Regions from separate parts of the Homo sapiens genome. Here region 2 is linked to region 1. Evidence: promoter capture Hi-C in 16 types of primary human blood cells and fetal thymus (Javierre and others, 2016). All regions are on one chromosome and are shown on one strand. Each heading gives the region's core, a stretch centred on a gene start or on the middle of the fragment in contact. The rest is flanking DNA. Distances are from core to core; before and after follow the strand shown.

What was found. The method cuts DNA at HindIII sites, captures the fragments that hold promoters and counts their contacts. A CHiCAGO score of 5 or more calls a contact.
Region 2: a fragment that was not itself captured here is called in contact with the fragment with the promoter of VCAM1 in region 1 in 2 of 17 cell types (endothelial precursors and M0 macrophages); the score reaches 5.8 in endothelial precursors.

What each region holds. Positions count from the first base shown.
Region 1 is chr1:100,718,367-100,721,066 of GRCh38, reverse strand. VCAM1 (vascular cell adhesion molecule 1) reads right to left here and starts at 1,325. Exons shown (of 9, transcript NM_001078.4): 1 at 1,143-1,325; 2 at 316-591. The coding sequence starts at 1,206. The HindIII fragment of the contact is 1,026 bases long and covers 588-1,613 here.
Region 2 is chr1:100,847,534-100,850,233 of GRCh38, reverse strand. No RefSeq gene overlaps it. Among named protein-coding and RNA genes, the nearest start is that of EXTL2, 46 kb to the left of the region's middle. The HindIII fragment of the contact is 954 bases long and covers 825-1,778 here.

The DNA.
Region 1 (2,700 bases), core at 76-2,575:
GGAAATATTTTTTAATAAAACAAAAAGAAACTTAGAAATGATCATTTTACAGCTAAGGAAACCAGAGCCCAGAGAGGTTGAGTCTTATACATGGTCACTGTGTTTGTGGCAGAGGTAGAAATAGAAGCCAAGATTTGGATTCCTGCTCTCTCTCATGTTGGCCTTAGCTGTCCCTAGCTTTCCTGATGTTGTATGTTCTTTAGCCAAGAATCTGTACATGAATATCCATTTTAAAACTTTTTTTAAAATATCATTTTTAAAAAGTGATTTTAAAGTAAAATTGAGAGAAAAACAAAGATTTTCTAAAGCACTCACAGTAGATCTCCACCTGGATTCCTTTTTCCAATTTCCTAGATTCACAAGTTGCTGTGCACAGGTAAGAGTGTTCGTTCCCAAAACTAACAGGATTCATTGTCAGCGTAGATGTGGTCCCCTCATTCGTCACCTTCCCATTCAGTGGACTATCTATCTGGGTTCTCCAAGAGAAAAATGGGGACTCACAGCCTGTGGTGCTGCAAGTCAATGAGACGGAGTCACCAATCTGAGCAAGATATCTAGATTCTGGGGTGGTCTCGATTTTAAAAGCTTGAGCTGCAAAAGCAAAAAAAGACAGAAGCAAATTTACCACTAGTTTGTCTAGTATTCTCCTCCTTCTTCTCTGTATAATGTCTAAAATATGATCAGACTGATCTCTTTCCTAAGCTGCTTCAAACTAACTGCAAGGTAGCCAAAAAGCACCGAAGTCACTGCCAAAAAAGTTTATGGAATCATCTTCAGTAGAGAGAATTCTCAGTTCCAACCTTGATGCCCATTTATCAAAGCTGTTTTGTTATTTGCTAAGTTTGACCTCATTGTCAAGTATAGGAAACTAAAGAGACAGACCGACTAGAGACAGAATCCAAATTACTCAATTGCCTTTGGAAAAAAAGATACCAAAAACATCAATTTTCAGCTCTAACTATGACAGTACAATGGTATATAGCAAAACTCAATTGCATATTAAAAGTTAGACTAAATTAACTTTTCCTACTGTTTAAAATCCTAGTGTCTTTACTTCACTACTATCGCAAAACTGACTGAAGCCAAAACCAGGGCTAAAATTGAATGCTAACATTTGAAACAGATGAAGGGAAATAACTTACAAGCTGCAAACATTATCCAAAGTATATTTGAGGCTCCAAGGATCACGACCATCTTCCCAGGCATTTTAAGTTGCTGTCGTGATGAGAAAATAGTGGTTCCAAAACCCTTATTTGTGTCCCACCTGTGTGTGCCTGGGAGGGTATTCAGCTCCTGAAGCCAGTGAGGCCCGATGCAGATACCGCGGAGTGAAATAGAAAGTCTGTGCTTTATAAAGGGTCTTGTTGCAGAGGCGGAGGGAAATCCCTTCAAGGGGAAACCCAGGGCAGAGCCAGGGAAAAAAGTTTAACAGACACCCAGCCAAGTTCCACTATTAACCCCTTCAGTTGCTCTCACTGCTGAAGCTCCTCTCTCTGTCCTGGCAAAAGAAGACACTTCCAAGACTATAAAATACAGGCTTTTCCTCATCTTCGACTCCAAAAGGCTATCTTTACTGGAAAGATAAAGGACAATGCTGATTGCAGAATGAAGCTTTCTGAATCCAATGTGGGTTAAGGGGGTGGGGAGAGAAAAAATGGAGACAGAGTAGTAAATTCTACTCTGGTTTTTGAACTGGATAAATAACGACTATGCCATGTGAATTGATTTTCTCCATCAAGGAAATATGTTTGCAATTCTAAAAGAGATTAATTTTTTTCTCTTACAAGAGAAAGGAAAAAGTTATTTCTTTTGATGAGTCATTTTTTAAAAAAGGGACACCATAACTTCTTAGTTTTATATTTATTCATAAAAATAGTTCTTTTAGCAACAAACATCAACTTTTTGAAACTATTTTCTTGAGTAGAAAGTAAAGGACTGTAACTGAAATTGCTGCCAAAACAAGGGAAACAATTTTTTTTTGTTTTAGAAAAGTTACCAATAATTTGGTTAAATTGCTGGATAATTGGAATTTTTTTGCATACTTAAATGCAAGTGTATGGAATCCATCTGAAGTGGCAAATCTCTTGGGCTGTGAGATTTAACCGCAAACCCAGTTAAAAAATTAAAAATAATAGGTTTTTATTATAGGCAAGGGGACAATAACCAACTCTATGTTCCTTTTCCCCCCAGTGAAGTGCCTTTTTAAAAAAATCCCAATTAACTAACTGGCTTAGCCTTGCACACACATAGCCCAAGGCCTTGCAAAATGCTTGCCCATCAAAAAGAAACCGGAATAGCCACTTCCTTTTATTAAACACGTGCAGGTCTATCTCCCCCATTGGATCATCAGTTCCTCTCATGGTCAGGACCAGTTCTTGTTCATTGTTGTATCTACTTCTACAATATCTAATGCATGATTTTCCACTTAGTGGATACAAAAAATGCAATAATAAACGTTATACATTTGGAGAAGAAAATTCTAAATACTAGCAATAATATGTAAATACGGCATGAAAAAACTGTTAAATTCTACAAGAAAATTCTAAAGCTCAGAGACTCAATGGGATGTGTACAATAAACTTGTACTATATAACATTTGTACTCTGTAACAAAGGCCATAGCTGAGGTCTGGAATCTATAACTGTCCCTACCTGGTTGGAGAGGCTTCTGGATCTCCTCTTGGATACTGATGTGGCTCCC
Region 2 (2,700 bases), core at 52-2,551, 130 kb before region 1:
CATTTTAAACTGAAAAGCCAAGAATGTGTTATATTTATTTTCTGATTGTGCTGTAATTCCCTCTCCTTCCCTTCTTCCTCACATCTCTGCTTGGGCCATTGGAACAATTCAGTTTAGTTGCCTGGATAGGGGAGGTTCAGGGTCAAGGTAATATAGGAGAAAGCAATTAATACTTGTCCATATCATCTCATGGGGATAAGGATTTTATTTAGGTTTTAAAATATTTTAGACTCAAATGGATTTATGTTTTCTAGAAAGCCAAACTACATTTCTGAAACTGTAGTTCATTCTGTCATATTGAAAGTCCTTCTATAAGGCTGTGTTTTCTGAAAATGGGCTTTGCTCATAGAATTTTTGTGTGTAGATAGTGAATATTGGGCAAGTAGACTGATAGAAAGGACTTAAGCCTCTTCTGTCTTCAACAGTCCAGTTTGGTGCAATAGTTGATGTTTCAGATAGGTCTTCTTTGACTCTTTAAGAGTGAGCTATGCTCACTTTGAGTTCCAGGTATTTACTTCGATGTTAGCATTTAACACTTTGGTCACTGTATCCCTTATTAGACTACAAGATTACTGAGGACAAGGATCAGAGTCTCTTTCACTGTTTCATCCCCAATGCCTAGCCCAGTTCCTGGCTCATAGGAAAAACAAACCTGCTTGGATGAATAAATGAGCAAATTTATTGGTATTATTCAAAATTTTCCTCACTGAGCCTCAATACATGAGAGGGAGAAAATAAATATATAAAGTGTCATGGAAGTCTTTTAGTCCAATCACTGACTCAAAGTAAGAATCCTATATATAGAATCTCTACAGAGTCAAGCTTTTGCTAAAATATTTCCAGAAGAGGGAATATACTTAGGTTTTTTCCATTTATGGATCATTCACATTTTTAGAAAGTTCTTTCTTTATTGAATCAAAATCTGCCTCCTTAATTCTGTCTGCCCTTTGGAGTTTTATAGATTTCCATTTCTATAGTATAATTCTCCAAGTTTGCTAAAAAGACACAAGTTCAAAAAGATTTAAAATGTAGTAAGGATGGCTCATCTTGCACAGAAATCACCAACAGCTGGAACATCTGCTTTCTCCCTGATAAAATAAATAGGCTTTGCTTTGAATTTAGGTATTTATGGAACTGTCAGAAATGGAAAGGGAGAGGAATATGTGGGTTTGGCTACCACATTCAAGGAGGGAGAATTACCTTGATTTTTAGCCTTTGATGTGAGAGCAGCATCGTTTAGGTGCTTTATGATATCTGTCATATAACACAATATGGGGATTCATTTCTGGTTGTGGTATTTTACATTTGAAAATGCTCATCAAAATTTCTCTATGTGCCCTTGTTCTATGCCCATATAGCTACTCCCTACTGTCATTATCACTCCAAATTCTACATTTGAAAGACCAGAATTACCTCCTCCTCTTAACCAACTGTTTCTACCAACTACTCTATCACTGGCACTATTATTCTCCCAAGAGCAAAAAATACGTGGTTCATTTATCCTGCTCATCCCCACATCCTCTCAGCTACATAGTCGTGAGCATTTCTCACCTGTAGTGTTTCTTACATTTACTTCTTCCTCTCCAGTAATGATGAGGAGGCTCTCATTGCTACATGATTCATTTGCTGCTTCCCTTTCTCACTCCTGCTCCTATCCTGTTTTCGTGAAGAAGACATAGCACAGCTACATTATTTTTTTCTTGAATTCCATTGTCATCAATCTTTCACCTAATTTAAAATCCCAAACATATGGATGACCTGGTACATCAGTCTAAGCTTCTCTACTTCCATCTCAAGGTCCTCCTTCAACCCCAAAACCCTTAACTCTCAAATTGTCCAGGCTCATGTTAGCTACTGCACCACCCCATACAACCCACCCCAAACTCCAAGCCCACTCCAGTTGGTACCCTCTTTCCTTGCAACCCATCTGCACCCCAACTCATCCACAGCTGTGCTACATTTGCATTTGTATTGATCTGCTCTCTCTTCTGTGCCAATTCTTAAGTTATATTTTCCCCACAAGTTTTTATTCCAGTTATTCCAGGCCTTATTCTTCTCCTTCTCTTTCTATCACTTAACATTTTTATTGTGAATTATGATTTTAAAACAGGTAAATAAAACATGTGCACAGTTTTAAAACAGGTTGTGAAAAGAATACCCATGTAACTACCACTCAGATAGGAAGGAGAGTATTCTGGGAACCCAGTACATTTTACAGTACTAATAGTCTGTACCTCATAATTTAGTACTTATGGTAATTAAGTATCATCTTGCCTTGTCTTATGGCTTAAATGTGCCATTGTATTCCTCCTACTCTATTGTAGGCTATTGAAAGGCAAGGGCTCTACAGATTATTCTTTAGAATATCCCACAGTGTCTCAAACTGTGCTAAGTAAATACTACATATTCAAGAGATGCTTGTTCATTGATTACAGACTAGGAAAAAGCAACACTTAGTACAAACAATATGTATGTTTATGTCCAAAAACTAACATTGTTATATCTTTCAAACACATGTTAATCTTTAGGAAATAGCACAGTTCTAACGTCTTAGCTTCTTTTTTTCCCACATATTGTCCTCCTTGGTTTCGGTTTTCTTTTCTTTATATGGCATTCAGCTTTCCTGGTGATTTCTCAGGGAATTTCCAGTTTTACAAAGCAGAATATAAAAGAATGCCTTGATAATAAATAGAAGTCCCT